Regions from separate parts of the Homo sapiens genome. Here regions 2, 3 and 4 are each linked to region 1. Evidence: promoter capture Hi-C in 16 types of primary human blood cells and fetal thymus (Javierre and others, 2016). All regions are on one chromosome and are shown on one strand. The core of a region is centred on a gene start or on the middle of the fragment in contact, and the rest is flanking DNA. Distances in the headings are between cores, read along the strand shown.

Region 1 (3,285 bases), core at 431-2,930:
GTCTGTCTTACAATGTCATTGTCTTTTTTACAATGCCTAATATCGTAAACTAAATAACTCACAAAATTAAAATGTGACATGCTTTTGCTTTCTATTGAATAATTCAACATATGGCAAAGCCTCAAAAAGTACACCCTATCCTGGCTTATACTCTACAATGACACTAAACATATCCCTGGAAATCAATTTCAATGAAGAACTTTAGCTGAAAAATTCAAAACAGCTATACAGGTGACTTGACACAGTGATTCTGTATCACAAGTACACAATAAAATGATACAATTATGCAAAGTATTTGGCTACTCGGGCTTTTGTGGGTTTTGCCTGAATTATCCAAACAGGTCTTTGTACTTCATCAATGAAAACACACAAGGGACAAGAAATGATTTTCACGAAATTGCTTAAATTAACTGCTAAATTCCTCTGTACCTTTAAGGAAAGGAATCTGGAACACCAAGAGTTTGTGTAAGTATTTCAACTCTCAACCTCCACATGGGCGGTGTTTCGCCATAAATACTAAAAACACGTTTTGAACATGATCCCTGTATTTCAAAAGCTACTTATGAAGAAAAGTGGGACATGCATAGAAAATAAATGATGAAAAAAAAAAACAATGCCTTCTAATCCCTCCCCATGGGACGATGTTCAGTAACCAGTTTTAACCAAAGCAGGAAATACAGGAGATGGCGGGAGCGTAGGCAGAGAGCGGAAGTTTGCTAGTATCTACTTTGAAGTGTTTGAATGGACCAAGGCACGCTCTCTCCCGCCAAACTATAAACTCAGTCGCCCCAAAACACCAGCCTTCCAGCCCATCAGGTATATTACTCCACGTTTTCCTTTCTCCCGGCAGGTCCTCTACTCCCACCTCCCCCGAGAACTCCCTATTTGCTGGCTTCTCTCAACTCCCGCCACCCCCATCCCAGCCTACATTATGATCCACGCGCTGCTCTCACTTTCCGCCCTCCGCCTTTCCCGTCTGGAGTGCCTGGCCGCGCCCCCACCCAGGCCCTCCCCACGGCCCCTCTGGCTGGGAAGTGCCTGCTGCCCTTGGAAGCGAATACTCCCACCGCGCCCTCCCCCACCCTCTCCTCCGGCTCCAGGCCTTCCTCGGGAACCGAGGCCACGAGGTCCGCGGTTCACTCCCGCCCGACGCCCTCGCAAATGACTCCCGCTCGGTTCGGCCTGGGGGAGGAGGCGCCCTCATGGCTACTGCAGGCCTCTCCACCCTCCGGACTGGGCTGGGCAGCGGCCCCGTCGCACGCAACCCCCCGCGCCCTTGCCGGGCCGAACGGGCGCCGCGCTTCTCCTACCCGCCGCTAGTGAACCCAGCCCAGAGAGAAACAAAGGCTCGGGCTCCAGGACCCGCTCGGCCAGGCCAGCCCCGGCCCGCTCCCTGCCAGGACCCCAACAAAGCCCGAGCTGCCGCCTCGCGCCCCCGGCCTGGCTTACCCATCGGTCCCCGCACGCTTCTTGCCAGAGGGGTAATCCTCCCCTAGGTCCAACCGGTGCCGCTTGGACATCCTCGCACTCTTCGAACGGGCAGTTATTAAGGAAGAAAGCTGGCTGCTGTATGGGCACAGTCGAGGACAGCCACTTAACTCTGGAGGACCCCCACCCCTCCCGCTACTACAGCCCACACGGTGCGGCCGGAACCAACAGCTAAAATGGCGGCGGCGACGAGGGCTGGGCCTGCGCGCGCGCGCGCTTCCGCAGCGTGCGTGCGTGCGAGTGTGCGTGTGAGCGAGGTGCGCGCGCACGACGCCCAAAGGCGGGAACTCCTGTCCCGCCCGCTGCCTCATTGGTCCGACCTTTCTTGGGTCTCCTCCCTCTTCCTGTAGCTTTCCCCTCCTCGGAGCGGCTGTTAGGAAGAACCTGAAGGCCTTCACTTTCCATTTCAGGCTATCCTTGCCCCTCTGAGTCAAGAAATTGAGAAAGTCTAGTCCTAGTTAGGAAATCCTATTCATTTCTATTACCCCGGCTTTAAGGGAATCTCAGACCCAGAGAGGTTGAGAAACGAATGAAGATCGTACAGCTAATAAGTGGCAGAGCCGGGATTGGAACCCAGCTATTTAGTAACTCCAGATCTGGAACTTGCGGCCACTGCGCTACCCTCAGTTGCAGTGAGGGGCCGCGCGATGGTTCACGCCTGTAATCCCAACGCTTTGGGAGACCGAGGCGGGTGGATCACGAGGTCAGGAGTTCGAGACCAGCCTGGCCAACACGGTGAAACCCCGTCTCTACTAAAAATACAAAAATTAGCTGGGCGTGGTGGCGTACGCCTGTAATCCCAGCTACTCGGTAGGCTGAGGCAGGAGAATCGCTTGAACCTGGGAGGCGGAGGTTGCGGTGAGACGAGATCACACCAGTGCACTCCAGCCTGGACGACAGAACAAGACTCCGACTTGAAAGAAAAAAAAAAATCAATTGCAGTGAGGAAACTGAAGTGAGAAAATGTTAAGGCTTGTCATGATCTATTTTGCCCTTTTCTTGCCCAGCACGGACACCATGCACCCAAGCTATAGATGTTTTTAACTAGAATACAGAGAATTCGCAGTGAGGGCACAATTTGCTTTTTTGTTTTTTGTTTTTCTGTGCCTATTAATGCACTTTCGCAGTGTTAAATAACACCCTGCAAGGTAGTTGTTATTTTGTAGACGTAGACGCAAAGGCTGAGGAAGGTTACATCTCCTAGCCATAAGGGCTGTACCTAAAGCCATAACAAGGAGGTGGGGCAAGATGACTCTAAGGATTTTTGTGGATCTCTCCCCCTAGAATATGTCTGCTTCCTCAGTTGCATTTGTTCCCAGAAGAAATGCACAAGAAAAGATCTGTGGACCATCTGCAGCAGGGTGATCTCTGTTGTTCATGGAATGGCTTGGTTTGGCTGCCCTGGAAGACCATACTCTGGTTCTTATCCAAATCTCAGGACTGCAATTGCTAGGATTAAATGCAACTTAAATATTGCAACTGATGAGGGGTTTGTGTGTTTGTTTTGAGACAGTCTTGCTCTGTCGCCCAGGCTGGAGGACAGTGGTGCAATCTCAGCTCACTGCAACCTCCGCCTCCCGGGTTTAAGCCATTCTCCTGCCTCAGCCTCCCTCCTAGCTGGGATTATAAGCGCCCGCCACCACGCCCGGCTACGCGCCCGGCTAATTTTGGTATTTTTAGTAGAGACGTAGAGACGAGGTGTCGCCATGCTGGCCAGGCTGGTCTTGAACTCCGGACCTCAAGTGATCTGCCCACCTCGGCCTCCCAAAGTGCTGGGATTACAGGCGTGAGCCACTG
Region 2 (3,381 bases), core at 239-2,738, 1.3 Mb after region 1:
TAGGAGAAACGGGGTGAATAGCTCAACTGGGCATCATTTCATATGTGTGTAGTTGATGGGGCTTGATTCTGTATTTTTCTAAAAGGTTCCCTGGTGGAGAGTGTTGACATTTTGCTATTGTTTCTTTCAGAAAAGATCTAAGTCAGAGGATAACATGAAGTTAAGCTAGGCAAAGAGATCAAATTTTAAGGACTGAGATGGATTGTTTGACAAGTAGGAGAAGCTTGAATGACAGCTGGAGTACAAGAGAAGAGAAACTTCGGGGTGGGGCAATGTTTCCTTAAGTTAATGAGGGTGTGTTGGCCCCAAAGAGGGCCTCAAAATCACCCTGCATGGCCTGTGCAGAACATGGTCTAAACCCTTCAAGAAGGTGCTTTGAGGCACCCATGCAATGAAGGAAGCTGGCATCCGGTGGCTTGTAGCAGACCTGTGGGCAGCTGATTCACCACGAGTCGTGGCTACCTTTCCTATGCACAAAACCAACACTGATTAGCAACACATCACACTCTAAATATTGATTAAGCTGAAGCTGACTTCCTGGCTCAAGTCATGTGTGTGGTTATAAGCTGTTTCCTGCCAGGAAAATAAGGCAATTAACTTGAAGAGTTCCAGCTACAGGCATGACACGTGTCCAGCCTTCATAGGTATTTTCACATGCCAGGTTGCATTAACACAAGCTAAAAATTTATCTGCATGTTCCTTTGTTTAGAAATTATGAGTTCAGAGTCCATGTCATTGTTATGTTTCCAGCTTCTAAGATAGAGTCTGACACACAGTAAGAATTTAGTAAGTGTTTCTTGCTGAAATAAAGCACTGGGGCTGGGCACGGTGGCTCATGCCTGTAATCCCAGCACTTTGGGAGGCCGAGGCGGGTGGATCACCTGAGGTCAGGAGTTTGAGACCAGCCTGGTCAACAAGGTGAAACCTTGTCTCTGCTAAAAATACAAAAAAAAAGTTAGCCAGGTGTGGTGGCGGGCACCGGTAATCCCAGCTACCTGGGAGGCTAAAGCAGGAGAATCACTTGAAACTGGGAGGTGGAGGTTGCAGTGAGCCGAGATTGTGCCACTGCACTCCAGCCTGGACAACAGAGCGAGATTCCGTCTCAGGAAAAAAAAAAAGCACTGGGCATGGGCATTTCTGCCAGGTGCCTCAGTGGCCCTGAGGGCACTTGCATATAAACCAAATGACTTGATCAGTTTTGAGTCCCCACTGCCTTCTTCTTATACTCGTAAGTTCTCTTGTAAGGGGCCCCCATCATTTCTCTATTTTTCTCCCAGCCTCGTTAATTCCTTCCAAAGAGCCCTTACCCTTTGGCACCTCATTGGTCCCTGGGGATCAGAGCTGAGCTGGGGAACTGTGAGGTCAGAGAAGGTGGCACCTTGGCACCCACCTTAACCATTTGGGGCAAACTTCTCCCAGCTATTTGGTCCCTCTAGACCTTTTCAGACAACTGCCCTACATTCTAGACCGTTTCCATTTCTCCACACCAAAAATACAAATTAAATTTTTAAGATTTCTCATCCCTCGACCCTCTGCTGAATTCCTGTTCATCTGGCAAGTTCATCCATGTTACTGTGATAATGAAAAAATACTGAGGTAAGGTCACGTATCTGTATTTCTACACCAGCTTTGTGGAGATAATGCCTTAAAAGCACAGTCTAAATGCACCGCAACTCTAAGCAAGATATTTGGGGTGAAGAGGGGCATCTGTGCCCCTCAAATTATGTGGTTTAGGCAGCTACAATAGATGTTCCACCTTGAAAGCAACATACTGATCCATTTTGCACGCAACAGAGCTGGGCCCTGAAAAATGCTTGAGCCCTCAAATATGTTTATACCAGATGTGAGCCCTCATCAAAGTCAAATTTGACAACGTCATGCACAGTCACAAAACACAGATTCTCTTGCTTTTGTGTAAATGTGCATGTATTGTAATTAAAAAAAAAAAAAAAAAAAACAAAGAAATGGGCCAGTTAATGTGTGTTCATGATAGAAGACCCCAAATAGGAGATCTAAATGCATTGAACTCAGCCTGGGAATCAAGAAACAGATGAATTTATGTATATTCTGGATGGAAAAATAAAACTATCAATATGACCTAAACTTCTTTTAGGATAACTGCATTTGATTCCTTTAAGAAAATCAATAAGAAGAGATGCTATTCAAATAACCCTCCCTTGCTCAAAGAGCTGAGAAAACTTGGCTTTGTTCTCTATCTGGTCTCCACTTGGTATTTAAGGAAGGAACAGAGAGATTGGGAAACTTTAAATCATCCACATCTTGCTACGGGAAGTTCATTGGCATGTACACATGTCTGTGGGTGGGTATGACAAGAAAACAATAACTGTTTTTCTCATTCCTGACCTTTCTGCCCCATTCTTCTAAGAAAACTGTGGCTCATGAGGGCTTTCTCTTCAAACTGGCTGGATCACATTTTCCCTAGATCAAAAAGGTAAGTGTCTTGCCTTAAAGGGCCTATTTTTGTAATTTCTGTCTACTAGATATAAGCAAAAATTCTGTTTAGGTCAACAAAGCATGCAATTAAGCAAAATGGATGATGATGTCAATACAGACTTCAAAATCAGCATGTGCTTAGGGAAGAACTTCCCAGTTGAGTATTATTCCCTCCTAAACCTGAGAGCTGGCCAGAGCCACACCATCACAGTCATGATCAATATTCCTGGTTGTGTAAGATTCTCCCCCATACTATTTAATATGCTGTTTCTTCCCAACTTACATCACACAAAGCTACCTAAGCTTGGTTTGCTCTTATTTCATTGAGTACCTACTGTGTACTGAGCACTGGGATGGGTGTGTTAAACCTTTTTCTCTCTCTGACTTCTAACCTCCACCTCTCACATGGGACCTCATAGAACTTCTCACTTCTAACCCAATCCTCACAACAACCCACAGAGGGAGACAGCATCCCACTGTTACAGCTGAGGCAATGGAATGCCTTCAGAGAGGGTAAGTAACTTGCCCAAGGTCAACCAGCTACCAAAAAGCAGAACCAAAATTCAAATCCACATTGGCTGACTCCAAAGCCAGGGAAGGTGTGCCTCTTGTCTTCTAACAACACCCAAAGATGATGCCCTCAACTCACGTCCTTGCCTTTATACACCTGTCACCGCTTTCTGGCTACAGGGTTGGGGAATCTCATGACTTTCCTTATTCCCATCTTGAAAGGGTTGGGGCTAAAATGCCATTATGCCGGCATGCCTTGAGTTTGGAGGAGACAGATATTGCCTTAACCACAAACACACAAACACCAGACTCAGCCAGCTCCCCAGTATAACTAAGCCCTTCTCCAGGTAGAGACTGGAAACAAGGCCTGCCAAGGCAGAATCCCATCAGCCATTCCTCATGGGCCGAACACGCCTC
Region 3 (3,496 bases), core at 650-3,149, 1.3 Mb before region 1:
TCATCTTAGAGATTATCCTTGTCTTTCCTAGACATTATTATTTTCACTTAAAAAAGTTGAAGCCTTACTTACATCAAAAGGTAAGGATGGGCCTCTTTAAGGTAAGGCATAAGTATTAATGCAACAGCTTTTAGTAAATTACTGTTATTTAAAATTCTTTCTGTGCTCCTCCAGCATGTGTAATAGCTTGCCTCATTTATGTTTTTTCTTATTCATTCATTCTCAATGGGCAAAATTTCTAATTCATTCAGTCTCTCCTGACACATTGTACTTGGCAGGTAATTCGTAATAAGCTTTAATTTTGAAAATGAACATTTGTCATTTGGGACCGTAACTTAGATAGTTTAAAAACACCAAACCCGCTGTGCAAACATCTGGAAAAGTTGATGATAGGGGACGGTTTGCTGCAGTCAACGTGTCTACCAAGCAAATGACAGAATCGGACTTAGAAAGGTCTGTTGTCAGAGCTCGCCAGTAATGATGATTTGTCTAGTAAGAGATATTAGAGGAAGAAGAGATGAAAAAAAAAGCATTTTCCATCCATTTGGCAAATGCATTTGCCATTATATGCGAGTTGCTAATTGATGCTTTAAATCTGTGATCATATGTGCTATTAAATATGAAACCTGTACACACAGACATACAGACTCATATTGATATGAGGATAGATGTCTGAGGTAAATTTAGAGATGAGAAAATTAATGCAAGATGCTTTACTTTGGAAGTAATTCCTTTGGGAATTGTCAGATGCCAGTCAGGTGCTTGTGTAAGTCACCTTTTTTTGTGAGGGCTGAAAGACCAGGAACAAGGTTCTAAGAATTTAGACCACTGGTTCTCTAGTAATGTATGCAGATAATCAAAGAAGTAACATGAAGAAAAATGATGATTTTAGTTTTAAAATATGATAATCTATTCTTCTTTAAAAATAATTAATATCACAAGACCTAAAGCCTTCTTGTTCACTCTCTTCTCCGGTAAGCTTCATTTTGAAAAAGGCTAAAAACTTTTAGGGAGATTCTCTAGGGAGTTCTGGACTTGACATGCGAAAGTGTCAGAGTCTAGCTTTCATAGTAATAGAGAGGTCAAGAATGCTGCTGAAAAGCATTCTGGGGCTTACCTTGAAATGGGATATTAAGTGGACTCCAGAATTTTAAAGGAGCCAGTCTAATACAGCTCCTTAAGATAAACTAGATGTACCTAAAATGTGACTGCTTTTAAGTAGTTGGGAGAAACAAACATGAACAGATATTTTTAAATTACAATATATAACTTCTTCCACAGAGGCACAATTAAAGTGCTAAGAAATCACTGCAGACAGAGAACCTGACACTGACAAGGAGAATTACATATGCATCAATGAGGAGCTGGCATTTTGGCTCAGTCTAGAAGTCATAGGAATTTTCCTGGAGAAAGTTTTTTCAAAGTGAATAGCATATGCAAAAATGGTAAGAACTATTGAGAAATAGAGAGATTTTCCTTGAATGCGAGTTCAGTGAGATTACAAGGTTTCCAATAGCTCCTTTTGGTAGTGAATAAAACTGAGTCAAATTTGCAGAAATCAGTAACTCAAGGGAATTCCTTCATTGGTCCTCTCACTAATGTGAGTGCATATGTGTGTGTTTTACGGGATGTGTGTGGGAGGGGATGTTTTTACTATTTCTCAGAGCCACACCCTACCTAAATATTGTACGCTCCAAGTAAATTGAGAAAATAAGTGTTGGAGATGGGGAGAATGGAAATGGAAAGATAAAGAAGAGTTTTATCTTTGAAAATAGATATTTATGGTACCTTATTTACTTTAAAATAAATGAGATACCTATTCATGCACATATCTCAGAATAATTACTGTATTTTCTAATGGGAGAAGCCTTAGAAAATATCCAGTTTATTGCCCTATTTTAAGAAATGAGGAAACTGAGTTTTAGAGAAGTTGAAACACGTTTTCCAACCATGGTTACTTGCAGATATAAAGAATAGAACTCAAATGTTTTCACTCTTAGTACAAAATTATTTCCTTTCTACCAATGCAGCTTTTAGACAAATCATCACATTATTAATTGATCAGTCAACAGTTTTTTATTGATTATACTACAATGGGCCTTATAACTGGGCTCTATAAGAAATGGGAAATAAAAAGAATGTATGAACTGAAGACAACCCATTAAAATATCAGAAAGACAAGGTAGCAGCAATTTTAAATGAGTCCCTGTATTAATTGCTGTTGCAGAACCTAATGTTACCAAATGTTCATTTGGATAAAGTGGATATCTGAAAATCATAACCTTGATTATTAGGTTGTCTGATATGTGCTGTGAATGAGAAGTAGGTAGACTTTATTTCACATGGTCATTCCAGTTGATTTACCGTGTTTTCTTCAGGCACTTTGCTGAGAAGAATTCTGAGGTCCTGTTTGATGTCAACAGAAAGAAATGCTATAATCAATGTGTAATGACAGCCATACTAGTGACAATAAGACCAGGTAATTATCAAATATGTAATCAGTATAATAATAAAATCTTATATTGTACCTTTCTTCGAAGAGCAAAGATTGTTTCCAAATTCGAGTCACGAAATTAAAACAGAAAGCCTTACTTCTTACTCCAGAGAATGACTGGATGCCAAAAGATTAAGTAAGCATCACTAATGTGCTTACATGAGACAATATTGTGGCCAATTATATTTCTATCCTGCCTACATTACTCAGATCTTAAGGTGATGTCACTATGCGTTTGAGTGTATGTATGTGTGTGTGTGTGTCTGTGTGTGTGTTATGACATTATACCTGGAGAGAAAAACAAATCACCAAGGCTGATTTCAGAAGAAGCTTTGGCATCCATATGCCACTCACCTTAATCATTTTTAAATCAGACTGTCCTTCAATCTTACGATTCAGTCAAGGAGCTAATTGTATCTTGTCAATGCCATAGATACCCTCAAAGTCCTATAAAAGATGTTCTGGGCTTATGTAGGCTGAATTAAAAGACATTCACTTGTGGTGGCTTTAAACCACATAGGATGACTCATCATATCAGTTATATCCACTTGTGCTGACGTTTGTCTTGCGTAACCATTGTGTTAAGTGCTTTCCATAAAAAGCCTTCATGCAAATCTTTTTTTTTTTTCCTGATCATTAAGGCACTTTAACACAAAGAGGTAGAACAGTACGTTGTAACCACATCCTGGGTTTGTTTCTCTGTAGGAAGATTGCTTTGTGCCTGAAAGCTGTACAGGATATTTAAAGACTAGAGCAAATGATTAAATTTACCCACTTTTTTTTTGTTCCTGGCAGCCTAAGCCCTAAGCTTTACCTGTCATTCAACTCATCTAAATGCCAAAGAAAAGGGCTGACACAGAGTAGAAATCTTGTCACATGACCTCACCCTCCTCCCCATCTCCTTTCTAAGGGCTCCTGCAATTGTCATTTACATTAAAGTTCCGTGCTTAGGCCTGCAGGTGGAGAATTGCTCTTTTGTTGAGAGTTAGTTTCTGTTACAGG
Region 4 (3,263 bases), core at 764-3,263, 1.7 Mb after region 1:
GGTGGCGGGCGCCTGTAGTTCCAGCTACTCAGGAGGCTGCGGCAGGAGAATGGCGTGAATCCAGGAGGCGGAGCTTGCAGTGAGCCGAGATCGCGCCACTGCACTCTAGCCTAGGCGACAGAGCAAGACTCCGTCTCAAAAAAAAAAAAAAAAAAAAAAAAAGAAACCAATTGCTAAAGTAGAGTAGCTAAGGAATCAGAACTTGTTTCAAAGTAAGCGAAGTAGTGGCCAGACTAGGTGACTCAAGGCATGACTCAAACCCGACTCTGGAGGCTGTCTGTCAGCTCCCGGAGGCGGGGGGCGCGGTGTCTAACACGTTTTAGGAAAGTACCAGGCTTGTGGAGGGCGACAGGAAACCTCCCCGGGAGATCGGCCTGGGGCTCCTCCTGCCCTAGAGCCTGACCTCTCACTCTCCGTACCGGCAGCGACTTCCAACCTCCTGGCTTCCCCTTCCTCCGTTCGAGGCTCCCCACCCCTCGTCTTCCATCCAGCGTCACAGGGCGTGTGCGTGTTGTGTGCGAGACGCGGGTCTCCTCCCCCGCCGCCCTCCGCCCCGTGCTCCCAGCCACGCGCCTTCCCGCCCCGCCTCCGCGGCAAGCCGCTCCCTTCCCACCCCGCCCGCGCCCGCCGCCCGCCGCCCGCCTCCCGGGCACGCGCTGCACGAACGGCGCCCGGAGCTGGTCTAGGCAAACACCTGTCCTGCCTTGGCTCCGCGAGATTTGGGGCGAAAGCTTAGGCAACAGGGGCACGTTCTCGCGAGGTTTAGGAAATTTCCCACGGCCGTGTTGTGTCTGAGCCGAGTAGTGGAAGGCGGTGGGAAGGAGGTGTAGCGTGAGACTGGACTGCCCGCATTGGGTACATGCGCAGTGCCGCTCGCGCGGGCCGCGCCAATCCTGCAGCGCCTTCAACAGGTTTCGGGCGGCGAATTCCAGTTCTCCGGGTTTTGGGGCTCCCTGCGGGAGGCAGTGCTGGATCTGGGAATCTCTAGGAAAGGAAAGAGCAAAGGAGGGGAAAGATGGGGGGCTGCAGGTAGGAGGAGGGGGCGGGATTCGGGCCCTTCACCCTGCTGTTCCATGCCCGGTGGGGCCAGGTTTGCCCGGGGGCTTCCGGGATCAGGCCGCCTGAAGCGCGATTCGGGCAGCCGGCAGCGTCCTCGGCTGTGCCAGGCCCTCGGGTGGCCCGGTTCCCTGTGCAGTAGTGGTCTCAACACACACCTGGGCTCACACACGGTGGTGGCTGCGATGGGGTCTTAGAGAGGCCATGCAGCACGCGAGCGGCAAGAGCTTTGATCGGGTCCTCTGGGCAGACTCGGAGGTGGGAGAATGTGGCTCTCAATTCCAAGGCAGTTTTCCCTTCTGGAGAGAACTACTCCGCGCTCTGGCGTGTGTCTGCGAGGTGGCCATTAGGGGTGTCTTTGCTAGAGGCCTTGGCTTGACCTCATTTCACACCCAAGGAGAACGCTAAGGCGAGAGAGCTCAACTGCAAAAGTTTTCCGCTTGAGGAGCTCTGGAAGGGCCTCCTCATTAGCATGGGGGGGTGTAATGAATGAAGACAGTCCCCGACGTGTCACTTGCCCGAACCCCAGACATCTCTGGCGCTCCTGCACCAAACGCCGAGATTAGCATAAAGGAGGCGCCCAGGGAACGTTTGAATGAATGAAAATAGCTGGGAACCCAGAGTGAGCGGGAAGCCGCTTGGAAAACACCCATTGAGGAGGTGTTTCATCTAGGCCTGTGAAACGCAGCCCATTTTCCCAGGACCCCTCCTCCCTTCTCCTCGGCCCCGCCTCCTGACCCCTCCATTCCTCGTCCCCGTAGTAATCCCCTCCGGTTTTCCTCAGTCTCCACGTACGTCCCTCAAAGCGCGTCCTAAAACCCGGATAACCGGAGCGCTCCCCATGGACCACACGGAGGGCTCGCCCGCGGAGGAGCCGCCTGCGCATGCTCCATCGCCTGGGTAGGTTTCCAGGGAAGGCAGCGAGCAGGATCCCCTACTCTGCGGGCGGCGCGAGGCGTCTGGCTCTTCGCGGCGGCGGCGAGGGGAAAGGGAGCGCGGGGGCTGGGTGGAATCGAGGAGTGAGGAAAAAGGGAAGGGGCGGGGGAGAGGGACCAGGGAAGGCGTCGGGGGGAATCTCGCGAGGGTTGGAGTTTTGGCGAGAGTTTGTGGAAGATGGCGCCTGTTGTGACAGGGTAAGTCTGAGGGAATCGGAGCGCCGGGAACCGGGAAAGTTGCGGGCGTCTGGCAGCTCACGGCGGGCAGCGGGTTCGGGGGCCGCGGCGCGCTTGGCGTTCGGGGGCCCGCGGGGGCGGCGTCGCGTGCGCCGAGCGCGGCGGCGGCGGCGTGTGGCCGTGCGCTGCCGCTCTGCGCTGCCGTGGCTCAGGCTCCAGCGCGTGAGGGCGGGCGGCGGCGGCGGCGGCGAGGCCGGCGGGTGCGGGCGTGAGTGCGGCAGGGCGCGCGGGGCCCTCGGGCGCCGTGCCTCCCGCGCGCCTCCAGCGGGCTCTGCCTGGGGGCCCCGTGCATCTTTGTTCCTCGCGGCCGTTGTCGCCGCTTCGCCCCGCTAGTGCCCCCGGCCCCGGGCGCTTTGTCTTTCACCGCTACCCGCTGCGACTCTCTACCCCCGGCCCTTTGTTTCGCCGCCTTGGGCGCTTTGTCCGACCCGTGGCGTCCCGCATCCCCTCTCCATCTCCTCCCCTCCGCTGTCCTTCCTCCCGTGCCCCTTTGTTGTGCCACACTCTTGTCGTTAGCCCAGTGACCTGCCACAGCCCGGGCACCAGATTTCTGCCTTAATTGTTCTTCCATTGTCTTTCTCCTGTGGGTCCCCTCTCACCTTTCTGTATGGTCCTGGATCACCCCCCGAGGCTTTGTCTCCCCCATCCACGGGCTTATTCTCTCGGCACCCCCTTCCTCTCCCGTCATCGGTTGATTTATCCACAACCCACGGTGTACGTCTGCTGAACTGTCTCAGCCCCGGGGACTCCATCTGCTGCTTCTAAGTGCACACAAGACTCTACGGTTTGTTGTTTTGTGGGTCTGAAAGATGCATGGGATACTTAGTTTTCTCCTCCGCACCTCTTTTTCTCGGGATTTCTTGTACCCTCCCGCCCCCCTATCGCCACCCCTTTCTCTCGGGATTAAAGCGTCTCCAATTTTCATCGCCGTCTTTTTAGTGCCGTGGGTTGTTTTGCTTGGAAACAGTAGCCTTGGAAAAAGATCTGGTCTCTTGGTGGTTCTTGCGCCCCCCGGCCCCCGCCCCCCTCCTGGTT

What was found. Contacts are between HindIII fragments. The CHiCAGO score rates a contact against its expected background, and 5 or more counts as called.
Region 2: a fragment that was not itself captured here is called in contact with the fragment with the promoter of DHX15 in region 1 in 2 of 17 cell types (naive B cells and activated CD4 T cells); the score reaches 5.6 in naive B cells.
Region 3: a fragment that was not itself captured here is called in contact with the fragment with the promoter of DHX15 in region 1 in 1 of 17 cell types (naive CD4 T cells); the score reaches 7.9 in naive CD4 T cells.
Region 4: a contact is called between a fragment that was not itself captured here and the fragment with the promoter of DHX15 in region 1, in 3 of 17 cell types (fetal thymus, non-activated CD4 T cells and activated CD4 T cells). The highest score is 12.8, in fetal thymus.

What each region holds. Positions count from the first base shown.
Region 1 is chr4:24,582,874-24,586,158 of GRCh38, forward strand. It overlaps DHX15 (DEAH-box helicase 15), which reads right to left and starts at 1,681. Exons shown (of 14, transcript NM_001358.3): 1 at 1,450-1,681. The coding sequence starts at 1,520. RefSeq lists silencers at 940-989, 1,190-1,269, 1,280-1,399 and an enhancer at 1,580-2,119. The HindIII fragment of the contact is 7,218 bases long and covers 1-3,285 here.
Region 2 is chr4:25,854,657-25,858,037 of GRCh38, forward strand. All of the region lies in intron 1 of SEL1L3 (SEL1L family member 3), which reads right to left. Among named protein-coding and RNA genes, the nearest start is that of SEL1L3, 6.6 kb to the right of the region's middle. The HindIII fragment of the contact is 2,534 bases long and covers 222-2,755 here.
Region 3 is chr4:23,331,048-23,334,543 of GRCh38, forward strand. It overlaps LOC105374524 (a long non-coding RNA gene), which reads left to right. Exons shown (of 19, transcript XR_007058437.1): 15 at 1,282-1,445; 16 at 2,379-2,479. All of the region lies in intron 2 of LOC105374523 (a long non-coding RNA gene), which reads right to left. Among named protein-coding and RNA genes, the nearest start is that of PPARGC1A-AS1, 440 kb to the right of the region's middle. RefSeq lists enhancers at 3,149-3,198, 3,259-3,488. The HindIII fragment of the contact is 1,845 bases long and covers 978-2,822 here.
Region 4 is chr4:26,318,860-26,322,122 of GRCh38, forward strand. RBPJ (recombination signal binding protein for immunoglobulin kappa J region) reads left to right here and starts at 2,155. Exons shown (of 11, transcript NM_015874.6): 1 at 2,155-2,189. The coding sequence starts at 2,170. RefSeq lists enhancers at 189-238, 1,329-1,378, 2,611-3,263 and silencers at 459-728, 2,199-2,328, 2,399-2,498. The HindIII fragment of the contact is 2,569 bases long and covers 730-3,263 here.